2 separate regions of the Homo sapiens genome follow, and region 2 is linked to region 1. Evidence: promoter capture Hi-C in 16 types of primary human blood cells and fetal thymus (Javierre and others, 2016). All regions are on one chromosome and are shown on one strand. Each heading gives the region's core, a stretch centred on a gene start or on the middle of the fragment in contact. The rest is flanking DNA. Distances are from core to core; before and after follow the strand shown.

Region 1 (7,683 bases), core at 3,250-5,749:
CACTGCATTCCAGCCTGGGCAACAGAGCAAGACTCCGTCTCAAAATAAATAAATAAATAAAAATTTGGGGCCAGGCGCGGTGGCTCACGCCTGTAATCCCAACACTTTGGGAGCCCGAGGCAGGCGGATCACAAAGGCAGGAGATTGAGACCATCCTGGCTAACACGGTGAAACTCTGTCTCTACTAAAAATACAAAAAATTAGCCGGGCATAGTGACAGACACCTGTAGTCCCAGCTATTCGGGAGGCTGAGGCAGGAGAATGGCATGAACATGGGAGGCGGAGCTTGCAGTGAGCCGAGATCACACCACTGCACTCCAGCCTGGGTGACAAAGAGCAAGACTCCGTCTCAAAAAAAAAAAAAAAAAATTTGGCTGGGCACAGCGGTTCATGCTTGTAATCCCGATACTTTGGGAGGCCGAGGCTGGCAAATCACCTGAGGTCAGGAGTTCAAGACCAACCTGGCCAACATGGTGAAGCGCCGTCTCTACCACAAAAATACACAAATTAGGTGGGCATGGTGGCACACGCCTGTAATCTCAGCTACTCGGGAGGCTGAGAAAGAGAATCACTTAAACCTGGAAGGTGGAGGTTGCAGTGAGCCAAGATCACACCATTGCACTCCAGCCTGGGTGACAGAGTGAGATTCCACCTCAAAAATAAATAAATAAAAATAAAATAAAATGGCCAGGCGCAGTGGCTCATGCCTGTAATCCCAGCACTTTGGGAGGCCGAGGTGGGTGGATCACCTAAAGTCAGGGGTTCGAGACCAGCCTGACCAACATGGAGGAACCCCATCTCTACTAATAATACAAAAATTAGCCAGGCGTGGTGGCAGGCGCCTATAATCCCAGCTACTCGGGAGGCTGAGACACCAGAATGGCTTGAACCAGGGAAACGGAGATTGTGGTGAGCCGAGACTGCACCATTGCACTCCAGCCTGGGCAACAAGAGCAAAACTTGGTCTCAAAAAACAAAGTAAATAAAATAAAATAAACAAAAAGTATACATTAACCATAGATGGGGCACAGAGTGATTAGGTCAGAAATCTTGAATTCTGCATCTCAAGATTCATAAATGACTTAAGTTTTCTATCCTAAGGAGGCTTCCAGAAGGAAAGACAATCACACAAACAGATGAGTGGGCTGAGGGAATGGCTCAGAGGGAGGGAGGCAGGAATAATGCCAGAACAGGGCCACCATGTGAATACCAAACTGGAAGACACCAAAGTTGAAAAAGAGGAGGCCACAGAAAAGCCAGAAGTCACTGGATAGAGAAAGAACTAAGGAAATAGGGGATTTCTTGAAGGACACAGATGCAAACAGCATCTACATAAAGGCAATAAACTATAAGAGGTTACCTAAATTCCATTCTGGATAATTCGTGACCATAATTATTTTGTGTTTAAAAATTATTTTTGTTGTAATGATACTGATCCTGGCAATAGTTCAACCTTCTGGAGAATTTAGAGCAAATGCAAATTTAGGAGACTTCTACACACAAATACGAAGTCTGAATCCCCCAAACATGGCTATTAGAGGAAAAAGAATAAAATGTCAAAACCAAACTGCTGAGTCAAAATGTGGCGGAAGGATTATTTAATATTTCTAGATTGCAATAGGATAGAGGAATATTGGGGAATGGGCCAAATACAGGGGCAAAAAATCAGCACAGAGCAAGATCTGAAGAAAAAAAAAAAAGCTCCAATTACAATTCAGCAAGCAGGGTACTTTAAACACTGAAGCTCAGATGCTTCATAATATAGAAAAGCTTCGGGAACTGCTGCCACCTGTCCAAAGCTCCACATCAAAGCAGTGAGACCCAGGACAGAGGCAGCCCATAGTCAGGATCAGGGTCCCTCACTTATGCTTAAACACACCAAACAGCAAGGGGGATGCCATGGACCCAGTGAAATTTGTCTGTTTCTCAGTAACTTTTTTTGTTTTGTTTTTGAGACGGAGTCTCGCACTATCTCCCAGGATGGAGTGCAATGGTGCGATCTCTGCTCACTGCCACCTCCGCCTCCCGTGTTCACGCGATTCTTCTACTGCAGCCTCCCGAGTAGCTGGGATTACAGGTGCACACCACCACACCCAGCTAATTTTTTTGTATTTTTAGTGGAGACGGGGTTTCACTATGTTGGCCAGACTGGTCTCGAACTCCTGACCTCATGATCTGCCCGCCTCAGCCTCCTAAAGTGTTGGGATTACGGGCGTGAGCCACCGTGCCTGGCTTGTTTCTGGGTAACTTTTAAGTAAAATCATTTGTGGAAACTAAAGGAGAAAAACAAGATAGTCCTCTAACACCTCTGTGCTAGAGCCCTTCTTGCTTATTCTAAGCCCATCTCCTTTTACTCCTCACAACTGTTGCACACACAAGAAGAAACAAGACTTGGAAACAAACAAGTAATCTGCCCACATTCCCAGGGTGAGATGATACAGCCAGACCTGTGAAGCTGCCTATAAGCCTGAAAACAGAAATGTACCCCAGTAGGTTTTCTCAACAGTATCTCAAAATGTTCGTGACCACCCGAGTGGCAATAAGGATGTAACTTACAAAATTGGCAGCATCCATGATTCCATCTTCTACAGGGTGGGTGCAATCAAGAGTGAACTTCAGAACTTGCTTCTTTTTTTTGCCCCCCTTCACCACAAGCTTTTTCTAAGAAAATACACAAATGATAACAGAGATGAAGTTTCAGTCAGTCGGAAAAACAAGATTAACAGAACCAGAAACGTCATAGGTATAAAAGTCCATACAAATACAAAACTAACGGAAGTGTGCTCCCTTTGCCAGAGGGCCAAGAGGCATCACTGCCTGAGTGCCAGAGGTATAATGGGGCAGATGCTGCTGTACAAGCTTGGGGCCTGGGGTCATGCCCTTTTGATGGGGAAATCATTCTAGCACTCTTGACTCACTCAAACTTTCCAGTCTCCCCAATCTCTACAGGCATGAAGGTCTCTTAGTTTATGAACCACAATAAAATGAACACTTCCTTTTGTTTGCCCTAACATTCCCAATTTCAAAAAAATACTATTTTTCCAAAATTAGAGTGCAGGCATACAAAATGCCTTGCATACCCACAATTTTCATATGAAATCAATCCTTGTCCTACATGTTCAGAGTAGGGTCCTGATCCGTCTTAGCTCATCTCCCTTAATCCTGTCTCATCCACCTTCTCATGAAGGGAGTTGCAAAGTATTCTAGGTGCCTGTCCACTCCAGCTTGGACAAGGTTAAGGCTAAAACCTAGAATCTTATTACAACACTACCGTCAAGAACTTCTGACATTTTGATTCGCTTCATCTATGCATTAGTACTTCCAAACCACCCGGCAAAGCACATCCTACAAGGTTCCAGTTTCTTCACTCTTACGAAGAAGCTTGTGTTAATCTTATCTCTCTACAAACTTGACACCATTAATGCACTTGTGCATCGTACCAACCTGTACTTTCACGTTTAAAAGCTCTGCAGAACTAAATAGACTTTTCCAAAAACACATCTTACCTCCCTTCATGTTTAAAAGAACTTCATCTAAAACTTGTGTTAACTGGATCAACTTTTCAAACATTTGGCCACTACAAAAATCACTGATTTATTTTTTACAACGTCTCTTCGCAGTAATAATCTAAGAGGGGTACTTTAAGATCTATTCCGAACACACACAATCAATCAAGAGACCTACCCACAACGGGCTTGATACTTCTCCATCAAGGTTTTAAACCAAAAGGCATTCAAAAGCCCAACCAGACAGAAAGAGCAGAAGAACCGGAAATGTTAACCAGGGAGTCCCAACAAAAGAGGAAAAGTAGGATCTTGGGACGAAGAACACGGAAAAACAACTTTCTCAAATAACCTAGGAGGAGGGCGCCGCACAGCCCAGTCCCAGCATAGCTAAAGGAGAATGCAATGAGAGCCTTCTCCCTACACCACTGCAACACCCGTTTGGGTCTGTACAGTGCGCCCTGATAAACTAATTTCCTCTGGGGACGCTAAAAAGCTCCTCAAACCCAGGCCTCCTCTCCGAAAGCACGCCGACCAAGCCGCCCTTCCGCGGATTCGTCCCCGAGTCTTGGCCGTGGACTTCCGAATGCGCGGCTCCCCAGGGTAGCAGGTCCCGTTCTTCTTCCCCGCCCTCCACCCAGGTAATCAGGCCCCCGGCCGGGGTCCGAGGACCAGTGGCCGGCCCAGACCGCAGTCTCCAGGCTCCAGCTCCCCGCTAGCCCCTAGCTGGGGCCCCGGGCCTCCGAGACCTCCCGGATCTCCCTCACGAGCCTCGGGCCGCGGCCTCCTCCGCCTACAACGTGCTGGGATCGGCAGGGGCTCTGGCCCGCTCCGGCCGACCTGCCAGCCCACCCCAGCAGGACGCTGCAGGGCGCCGTCCCCAGCGAGCCTGGGTAGATGCCGGGCTCGGCGAGGCCCACGTGCCTCCCCTGGAGCCGAGGCCTCACGCGGAGCCATACTAACCACAGGAGCCATGGCGGCAGCGGAGTTAGAAAGGGAGGTGAGCGAACTACGCAGACGCAAAGAGCCCGCAGCGCGCAAGGCACGCAGGGTCCAGGCCGCACTAATCACTTTGCCACGCCCCTCGTCCGCCACCTTTTCTCTTGGTTATGTACGATAGGGGAGCGATTGGTTTTTCCTGAATGCAAAACGCGTCCTCTCCCAGGCCTGGAGGGTTTCTGGGGAAGGAAGGAGGCCCGGCGGGCTGTCCCACTGCGAACGATCGGAGGGGGGAAGCCAGACTGGACGAGCCCAAAGATAAATAAAGGGGTTGGCTTTACTTTTTGAAAGTCTTGGGAAGAAAAAAGAAATAAGGAAATTCACTATACTGTAAATTACCAGCTAGTGGGATGGAAATCGAATCTACTAATTTGGGGAAGTGGGAAAATTCCTTGTAGCCACCGGGAAATTTCGTTCAGAGGTCCCAATGCCAGACCACTATGGCTTCCTCAAAAAGCCCCAGCTTGGAAGCTCATGCCCAGGGGCTGTCTCCCAGTGCCTGTCCTTTTTGCTGTAGCCAGGCCGCCCCCTCGCTGATCACCACTCCCTAGTTTCCCAGCCCAAGCCTTCTAGTTTCCCATCCCAAACCAGTAAGTAGTTGAGGACCACCAGGAGATCTGGAAAATGCAGATTCCAATTCCAGCGGTCTCAGTGGCCTGAAATTCTGCATTTCTCACAAGCTCTCAGACGATGCTGATGCTGCGAGTCCATGGACCGCATGTGGAGAAGCAAAGGTCCTCATCCCCAGGCCCACAGGTCCCTTGAACTGGGCTACTTTGCACCCAGTCACCCGCTGCGTCCTCACGGAATTATATTCCAGGATCCTGAATTGTAAATCACTCAGTGGCACACACACTCTCCACTCCCTTTACCTGGCTTCAGTGTACTCACCTAGCAAAAGTCCAATCACCAGAAGAGACTGTGCTGATGGGTCTAGCTTTCAACTCAGGCCTCAAGCCGGTTGACCAAGCTCCAAAGCCAGCTGCTGTTCTTGGCTCTATAATGATCAGGCTGGGCCTCTGCAAACACTTCTGCTTTCCAGCTGATCCCGGTTTGGCTCTATCAATAGGGGGCTTTGCTTCCTGCTTGCTCCTGTCCTGTCTGGTGTCATCCACTCTTGCTTCTTTATCCTGGAGGTGGCAGTTGGAACATTCTGGAAGCAGCAGTGGAATCCAGTCTGCACTTATTCCAACATTTGCAGAACCAGCCTCGTTTTCTCCTCAGAGACACCAGCCCTAGCAGAGCAGCACCCTCTCCTCAGATGTCTGAGTTTCACCTCCCTGTGCCCCTCCTCAAGCATCTACATTTTAATAATACCACCTACCAGTGGTAGCTACTTCCTGCAGTTGCTACTGTTAGTATTATACCCCGACAGTTACCTAAACACATCTTTATACCTAGTTAACAATCCTTTATATTAAATTCTCTCAGTTAAAAACTATAATGTGTTGTCTTTTGACTGGACCCTGGCTGATAACGGACCCTAAGCGAGCCCTCAGGGCTACTGACAATCCTAAATCTCTCCCCCAAGGGACTATTTCCCTTTCTTGTTGTTTTTAATAGAGACAGGGTCTTGCTCTGTCACCAAGGCTGGAGTGCAGTGGTGTGATCATAGCTTACTGCAGCCTCAAACTCCTGGGCTCAAGTGATCCTCCCACCTTGGCCTCCCAAATTGCTGGGATTACAGGCATAAGGCACTGCACCTGGCCCAAAAGACTATTTCACACCTCAGTCATAATGCCAGCCCCTTCTTCCTAAACCTCCCTCTCAGCAGTTGACTTTTATTGTTCTTTCCTTTTTCTTTCTTTTTTTTTTTTTTTTTTCTGAGACAGGCTCTCGCTCTGTTGCCCAGGCTGGAGTGCAGTGGTGCGAATACGGCTCACTGAAGCCTTGACATCCTAGGCTCCAGCAATCCTCCCACCTCAGCCTCCTGAGTAGCTAGGACCACAGGTGTGCACCACCATGCCCAGCTGCATGTTTTTTTGTTTTGTTTTGTTTTGCTGTTGTAGAGAGTTGGTGTCTCACTATGGCTATGTTGCCCAGGCTGATCTAGAACTCCTGGGCTAAAGCAATCTTCCTGCCTCAGCCTCCCAAAGTGCTAGGATTACAGGCGGGAGCCATCACACCCAGCCTCCTCCCGTCCTTATCTACACTTGATCTTTAGACAAGACCCACATGCTCTTCCCTTTAAATATGACTCCCCAGGCCAATGTGTGCAGCCTCTACCCCTCCCTGGACTCCCCACAGGTACAGCCAGTGGCATCCTTGGCATCTCTAGACTAGTGTCCCGTAGATCACCCTGACCCTCATGAGCCCATTCTCACCTCTTCACCCTCACCCCCACCTCCCCACACTCAAACCCTCATCCCTCACCCCACACCCCCTGCCCCGCCCCCACCTCTCCAGCCTCACCCCCATCCTCCATCCTCACTCCCATGCCATGTTCAGCCCTACTCCCCACCCTGAGCTCCTTCATCTCCAGCCACATTGATCTGCTAGTCTCTAAATGTCTTCCCATTTCTGGGGCTTTGCACTTGCTCTTGCCTCTGCTTGGAACTTTTCCCAGCTTTTCTATTTTTGTTTTTCTTTCGAGACAGGGTCTTACTCTATCACCCAGGTGGGACTGCAGAGGTGCAGTCACAGCTCACTGCAGCCTCAACCTCCTGGCTCAAGCAATCCTTCCACCTCAGCCTCTCAAGTAGCTGGGACTACAAGCACGAGCCACCATGCCCAGCTAAGTTTTAGTATTTTTTATAGAGGGGGGAGTCTTGCTATGTTGCCCAAGCTGGTCTTGAACTCCTGGGCTCAAGAGATTCACCCACGCTGGCCTCCCAAAGTGCTGGGATTACGGGTGTGGGCCACTGCGCCCAGCCTTCCTGGCTTTTCTTAATTTCTTATCCTCTGGGGGTCTCAAGCTCAGTTCCCCCTCTCTGCTCATGGTTACCTAGTGTGGTCCTCAGCTCGAGCCCCTCCCAACTGCCCTCCATCTCATCATCCTTATTTATTTATTTAATTTTTTAGGCGGAATCTCACTCTGTCACCCAAGCCGGAGTGCAGTGGCGCCATCTCGATTCTCCTGCCTCAGCCTCGCAAGAGTAGCTGGGATTACAGGCATGCACCACTACACCCAGCTAATTTTTCCTTTTTTTCCTTTTTTTTTTTTTTTTTTTTTTTTTTTGAG
Region 2 (7,683 bases), core at 3,839-6,338, 130 kb before region 1:
AAACCGTGTCATCTAAGCCAACCCTTGCTGGAGGTGAATTCTGGGATGACTCTGGGGGTCCTGCATCCACATTCGTGTCTCTTCCTTCCCTGCGTCCTGGGAGGGTGAGACATGCTTTAATGAACCTCTGGGCTGAAAGTGTCCAATCCTCTAAGCTTAATGACAGTCCAGAATGGAATTCTCTGTTCTAGAAGCTCTGGGGTTTACATCTTTTGTTAAGTAGGGATCAAAAGCTAAAATTAGAGCCAGGAGAGGTGGCTCATGCCTGTGATCCCAGCACTTTGGGAGACTGAGGAGGGTGGATCACTTGAGCTCAGGAGATCAAGACCAGCCTGGCCAACATAATGAAACCCTGTCTCTACCAAAAAATACAAAAATTAGCTGGGCATGGTGGTGTGCACCTGTAGTCCCAACTACTTGGGAGGCTGAGGTGGGAGAATTACTTGAACTCAGGAGGCAGAGGTTGCAGTGAACCAAGATCACGCCACAGCACTCCAGCCTGGGTGACAGAATGAGAGCCTGTCTCAAAAAAAATAAAGCTAGGAGTAAACCGAACATGTATATGTATATTTTTTGGTTCAGATACCTATTGCCTTCTGCAACTTTTATGTCAGTCCTAGGATCTCAAAGGAGTTAAAAGCGGGACTATTTCTAAACATAAGGCACTATGTAATTGGAAAGTGTGGCTGTTAACACTGTTTCCCTCCTAAAACTCATTGAGGAGTGGCTCTCAGAGGGTGAATGCTCACCACGCCCATGTGTGTGCTTATGTGTGCATGCACACACGTGCGTGCTGGAGGCAGGGAGGGCAAGACAGGGCAGTGAAGGGGGGTGTTCATCAGGCTGGCAGGTTTGCAGTCTGTGGACCAGAGTTCAAATCCCAGCCCTGGCACTCTCTGACTGAGGGCGGGTTTGCAGTCTGCAGACCAGAGTTCAAATCCCAGCCCTAGCACTCTCTGACTGAGGGACCCCCATCTCTCCAGTGGAGTTGCAAACACCGCCTTATACCTGGCCAGGCCTGGGAGCTTTCCTTGCTGCTGTCACGGCGGGAGGGTAGGTTCATAGCCCTGTAGGATGAGGTGCAGTTTCACAGGGGCTGAGATGGGCCTTAGAATCCAAAGCCTGTGCCATCGGGCACCCCCGCCCCGGGCCTCTCCCATCCCACTCATGCGGTACCTGCGTCATGAGTTGCTGCACAGGGACTGTCCCAGGGCCACAGCCAGGGTGCAAGAGGGGGGCAGCAGGGACTGAGGGGGAGCCTGATCCCAGCCTCCCTGTGACTCTGGCCTCCTCCCTGGGAAGCTGGCCCTTCCCAGTGGTGTGCTCCAGGCACAGCTGTCCAGTGACACGCACAGTCCACAGGTACTAGGAAACTAAAGGTGCATGGCCAGTACCAGGCGCCACATTCTTGCCCAAGGGCCTAAGGCGTGCTCAGTGTAGGATGGCGGGAGGCCAAGCCTGATAAGTAAGGGAGGGGCCAGCACTTGGTCCCGAGAGTCTGACCCCAGGGCCTGGGCTTCTCACCCCTGAATTACTACCCAACATCGTCCCAAACAAGCACTCCCTGGGACCCTGCCACTGCCAGCTCCAATTAGAAGACAAAGACTGGAAGCCCAGCCTGTCCTTAGGGAGCCTGGAATCTCGGAGCAGGGCAGGCGTGCAAACATCATCACTGCACGGAGCAGACAGGCGAGCAGGGCACTAACAGGAGCCACCCCATGTGCCTTCCTCCGCAACCAGCTAGCCAAGGCCACGGTGCTTGCCCTTCACCTGATCACAGTTTTGTCCTCTGCCCAGGTGGCTCCAATGAAAGGCCCCAAACTCCTCTTTGTAAAATGACCTGTCATTTCCCGGAGCCTTCCAGCTCCGGCCCTTCCCAAGTCTGAAGTGCAGTTTTTAGGGGTGTGCAGCAGCCGGGGGCTCCACGATGGGCATCAGTGCTCCCCTCCGGCAGAGGTTATGTCTGTGAGTCCTCACTCCAGGAGTCCAGACCCCAGGAGAGACATGAGGCAAATTAATGAAGACCGACAGTATTTGGGTTTCGAGATGTTGACCACCTGCTTCATTAGGATGTCAGGTTTCAACGATGGGGAAGAAATCGGTAGAAAATGATCTCTGTGTCTGGGAAGTTTCAAGTACAGCAGGGAGCAGCCCCATCCAGACCCGGCTGAGACGTGTGCTCCCCACCCCACACGCAGCAGCCATGCTTACAAAGCGTTCAGCCTGGAGGCGCCCTGTCCCTTCGCATCCCTTCTCCCGAGGCCTGGCAGCGGATGGCAGAACCAATACCATCATTTTCACAGGGAAACAAGTTGAGCAGGGTAATTGCGGCATCACGTGGTGCCCTAGTTTTGTTAAATTAGTCCTGTGGGTGGTGGGTGGAAGAGCGGCTGAACCCAGAGCCCACTCGGGGAAGTGGGCCCATTTCCCAACACTCAGACCAGGAACAGATATGGAATCAGGGGCAGGGGCACCTTTTGCCAGCCCTCCCCAAACTGGTGACCAAGGGGTGCCTCTTCTCTTCAGCCCTGACCTGGCCTTCAGCAGAGCCTTTTCAAGCAACTGTTCCCCACAGTCACTCGTGGAGGTGGTTTTGCAGAGGTGGGGGCCAGGCCTCCCTTCTCGATGCCCAGACATATCTAGACCAGTGGGGTCCAGGGCTCTGTGAACACCCAGACATTGCAAGCAAGGTTCGTTCTGAGGGCATTCGTATCTAGGCATATTTCCAGGCTTTATCTGTTTTTGCAAAGGGGTTATGACCCCAAAGCAGCTGAGAGGCACTGATCAGAACCTCCAGCCCTTTGCTTCATTATTGGACTCCTACTAAGCATTTATAATTTCTTACCACAGTTACTTTCTAGCCAGCATGGGGGAAATTACCTAAACTTCTAAACTGACCAGGCTTATGTGGAATGTATTAGTGGTACAGTTGGGCTGTTCTCCCCAGCAGCCACAGACACGAGTTATTCTGGGTTGGAACATGCCAGCAATTCAGAGGGTACTATCAAGAGTATTTCACTGATGTATAAGGAGGAAAAAGGAAACTTCAGTTCCTTTTTAACATGGTAATAGTTAAAGCTTATTTGATTTGTCCATTGTTTTTGAATAAAGAAAAGGTTACCCTCCTGCTCTCTTTGGGAAATGAGACACATGTGAGTCAGTGTCCTGTGGCCTTCTATCCTCATGGATCTTCTTCTGTCCTCGTGGCAGCCACCGTGAGAAAGGCAGCCTCGTGAGCCCATTCTGCAGATGAGAACACTGAGGCATCGGGCCACTCCATAAAATGCCCGGTGTCCTCCAGCCAGGAAAGTTGTACCAGGATTTGGGCTCTGGCTTCAGAGCCTCAGCCCATAGCCGCCACCCGGTGCGCCCCTTTCCTGAAAGAAAACTCAGCTTTTCTTATGTTCTCCTTTAGGGAAAATCCCAGCTCTGCCTACAGGAGCAATATTGCTGGCAGCTGGAGTGGTTTTAATAGGAAATTGAAAAATAAACCTAGGCAATTTTAAAGTACCTTCAGTTTGGTGACACGTTCAACTGTTTTCAAGCTGCTTACAAATATTATATCCACTCATGAGTTAGGAGTCCAGGAGCCTTATAACCAGGGAAACCGAGGCTGAGAGGGACAGAGTGGGCTCGTGTCAGAAGTCGGGGGTTCAGAATGAGGCTTGAGCCCCATGCCGCCTTCCCAGGGGCCAGGCTTGGACAGGAAAGAGGATAAACTGAGGACATCGCATCCTCCGAAGTTGGAAGTGTCATGGCCCCAGGGAAATGCAGGGCCCTTGGGCCAGGAGGCTGGGCCTCACCCGCTGGTAACTCATGGCTCTCACTCCCCACCGCCTAGAACCAGCTGCCCCTTGACCAGATGCTGGCAGCTGGATTCCACAAGGGAAGTGGAATCTGACCCCAGATGGGTCAAGGCCTGGCTGCAGCTGTGAGATCCACCCGGCCACTTGTCAACCTCACCATCTGGGCAGATCACGCCCTGCTTAACAGGCTGGGGTGTGGGATGCATGCCACCATGGTGGGGAACGTGAGCTGGCAGCCAACTGCCTGGGTGGGATCCAGCTCCTCCGCGTGCTGGGCAGGTATCGTAACGTGGGAATCGATGTCACGACAAGCAAGGCGCCTGCTGCGTAGGGCACCTGCCGCTTAGGACTCCTGCCACCGCGTAGGGCTCTGCTGCGTAGGACTCCTGCCGCCGCATAGGGCTCTGCTGCGTAGGACTCCTGCGGCGAGGGCTCCCTCCTGCCGCGTGGGCTCCTCCTGCCGCGTGGGCTCCTCCTGCCACATAGGGCACCTCCTGCCGCGAGGGCACCTCCTGCCGCATAGGGCACCTCCTGCCGCGAGGGCACCTCCTGCCGCGTGGGCTCCTCCTGCCGCGTAGGGCTCCTCCTGCCGCGTAGGGCTCCCGGGAGGATCCGGGGACAGGATGCCTGGGGACTGCCTGGCCTGCTGCAACCCTGCAGGCTCCTAGGCAACCTGTGCCAGGACATACGGGCATGCCGGTCCTCAGCAGAGGGCTGCCACCCTCCTTCACCTCCTAAGGACAGTCATGATGGCCCAAGGCCTGTTCCTGTGGACCCTGGGATGCACCACAGTGGGCAGGTGCCTCAGTGGCCCCGGGAAGGAGCCCGGGCAGCTGTGCTTGGTTAGGAGGCCTACGCTGCCAGGCTCTGCCGCTGCTGTTGGGCCTGGCTGTGGCTGTAACAAAGGAAGGGCTGGCCTTGCTTGAGAACTGGCAGCCCTACCATGGAGCTCCCCGCACCCCGAGGGACAGATGCACAGGCCATGTGGTCCAGTGAAGTGGGACGATCTCCTGCCCCAGTCGCTGGAGACAGGAAGAAGAGACACAAAATCACAAATGCAGCCTTAGAGAGGAAGGAAGAAGGGGCTTCTCTGCAAGGGGCGCCGCATGGATGGTGCCATGGGGGTGAGACCAGTCCAGTTTCGCCATAAAACAGACAGCGTCCCTGTGCATTTCCATCTGTCCTTGAGACCACTCTGCAGACCCCCACTGGGCACCAGCAGGGCCCGTGCCAGCAGCATGGTGTGGGCCGGGGGCAGTTGGCACTTTACCCCCGGGGTGGGTGAGCAGAGGCACCTCTCTGAAGGTCCCCGGTGCCTTTCGGAGCCTCCAAACACACATTGACTGTTGGGGGAGTGGGTGGGGGGCTGGCCCTGGCGGGAACTGAGCCTGGCTGGCAGGGTCCTGCCTGGGTGCTGAGAACTCACGTGGCGTTTGTTTTTCAGGAACCTGGGCAAGTCTGGCCTGCGGGTCTCCTGCCTGGGACTTGGTGAGTGTGGGGGTCCCCTCCGTCCCACCAGGGAAACAGGCTGTGGGGAGGCCGGGCATGGACTGAACTGGACACCCCTTGGGAGGCAGGGTGGCCCAAACCTTGGCACTCCCCAGGGAGTAGCTGCACCCAGAGCCCAGGATTCAGGGGGGCTCGGTTGCCATGGCAACAAAGAGGCAGGTGGGAGGGGGGCTGGGATAGAGGGAGAGAGACACAGTCTCAGCAGAGGAGGTGAGGCGGATACTAGGGGCCCCTCCACACATGGTCCCCACCCCACACCACAAAATCAGAGGCCCTTAGGGCCCCGGGAGTGCAACGAAGACACCTTACCTTCCAAGGCAGGCTCAGCTCGTGAGTCCCTCCTGGAGCGCCATTGGATTTGGCCCTTTTTCCTCTCCTGTCAGATACAAGGCCTGTTTCCAGAATGTGCAGTCCCCACCTCCCCTCTGCATGCAGTACACACACCCCCACACACACACCGCCCACTGCAGTACACACACCCCGCCCCCCACCAGCACCCACTGCCCTGACACCGCCCTCCCCGCTCTGTCCCAGCAGGAGCACGCAGACGCGGCTGTCAGACCTGGTGTGTTTTCAGAGAGGCATCCCTTGTGCCATTTCTTGCGGCATGTCCTTGGAACTAGAGCTGCCTCAGTACAGCTCTGACCAGCATTTCAAAAGCCCCAGACCTCCTGGACCCATAGCCAGCAGCCCGCTCTAGAGACTTTTGTCCCCTCAGTTTATTGACCCCAGGAGAGCAGGACTTTCTCTGAAGGCCAGCTGTCCACACACACTAAGGACACCCTGGCCACAGAGCAGCACAGAGGGACACCTGTGGCTGCCCCCTGTGCCCTACAGCCTGAGGTCTGAGCACCGACGGGATAATCTGGCTTCCTGCCAGGTTCCTAACTTGAGCCCCTGTGTCTCCTTCCAGGAACATGGGTGACCTTCGGAGGCCAGATCACCGATGAGGTAAGATGGGGCTCTCCCAGCACCCCAGAACCCAGCACGGGCTCGCCAGAGCACATGGTTAAGTCTGCCGCGTGGACCAGTGAGCACGTGCTCCCGGGAGCCAGCGCAGCAGCCTCCCTCCCTCTTTCTGTTTTGTGAGGGCGCCCTGCCCCAGGGGAGAGTAGAAAGGTGAGCCAGGTGGCCATGGCCAGAGGGGATGCCGAGTCTGGTGCCATCACCCAGCAGTGGATGCCTCGGGCCTCAGCATGTCCCTTAAGCTCCCCAGGACTCAGATTTCCCACACGCGTGACCCCCATTCCACAGTTAACGAGGAGAATTCAGGGTGCACACGCTTCCCAAATTCTGAAGCCGGATGCAGGTCCTAGCTGCCCCCATGGAGGCTCCAGTAACTGTCTGTCTTGGTCATTGGGAATGCAGCCCCTGCAGTGTCACAAGCTGAAGAACCTGAGATCTGCATTTCACCCAACATCCACTGTCCATTTCCCAGCTGCCGCGAACCGTGCGGATCGCAGTCAGATGTATTTGCTGGGGCTCATGTCCCCACAATTGGAACAAGAAAGTGAACACTAACAAAAAGCCAGCTTGTATGCCGCCAGCGCCTCTGGGTCTCTCGGAAGGACAGGGACGGCACACGCCCAGACATGTGTGCTTCTGGACAGTGAGGCAGCATCTCAGAAATGAGAGCAGTGGCATTTGCTCAGACAGCTCTGGGCATCTGCACAAGAAGCAGTTTTCACATTTATCCTACTTAGCACTAGAAAGGTTGCGTTTAAAAATTGATCAGCGAATTGATGTGAGACCTTGTTAGCTGCGATTGCTCAGTTTCCAAGGGAAAGCTTTGCTTCTATCAAAATTTAAATGCGTACAGTTTGTGTTTGAGGTCACTTTTATCTTTAAGACACTAGCTGGCCGGGCGCGGTGACTCACACCTGTAACCCCAGCACTTTGGAAGGCTGGGGCGGGCGGATCACCTGAGGTCAGGAGTTCCAGCCTGGCCAACATGGTGAAACCCCATGTCTACTAAAAATACAAAAATTAGCTGGGCGTGGTAGGGGCGCCTGTAATCCCAGCTACTCAGGAGGCTGAGGCAGGAGAATTGCTTGAACCCAGAAGGGGGAGGTTGCAGTGAGCCGAGATCATATCACTGCACTCCAGCCTAGGCCGTAGAGTAAGACTCTGTCTCGAAAAAAAAAAAAAAAGACAATAGCTGGTTATAGAATGATTTGCCCCTTGCTTTGAAGTTGCTGGATAGGCGCTATCTCAGGGTGAAGTCTGGAGTTATTAAGGCAAAAGGAATTGCCTTACCTCAGCCCACCAGATTGGTTCAGTTGGAGCCCTGGGGCCCATATGGTTCAATCTGAATCAGCCTTGCCTGACTTGGCCTCGTTTCCCTTTCGATGTGGTTTCTAAACCAGGA

What was found. The method cuts DNA at HindIII sites, captures the fragments that hold promoters and counts their contacts. A CHiCAGO score of 5 or more calls a contact.
Region 2: a contact is called between a fragment that was not itself captured here and the fragment with the promoter of RPL22 in region 1, in 4 of 17 cell types (endothelial precursors, megakaryocytes, M1 macrophages and 1 more). The highest score is 8.0, in endothelial precursors.

Annotation. Positions count from the first base shown.
Region 1 is chr1:6,195,096-6,202,778 of GRCh38, forward strand. It overlaps RPL22 (ribosomal protein L22), which reads right to left and starts at 4,500. Exons shown (of 4, transcript NM_000983.4): 1 at 4,467-4,500; 2 at 2,557-2,661. The coding sequence starts at 4,478. RefSeq lists a silencer at 4,252-4,391. The HindIII fragment of the contact is 15,793 bases long and covers 3,380-7,683 here.
Region 2 is chr1:6,067,505-6,075,187 of GRCh38, forward strand. It overlaps KCNAB2 (potassium voltage-gated channel subfamily A regulatory beta subunit 2), which reads left to right. Exons shown (of 16, transcript NM_001199862.2): 3 at 5,251-5,294; 4 at 6,229-6,266. Among named protein-coding and RNA genes, the nearest start is that of KCNAB2, 25 kb to the left of the region's middle. RefSeq lists an enhancer at 5,962-7,161. The HindIII fragment of the contact is 4,024 bases long and covers 3,077-7,100 here.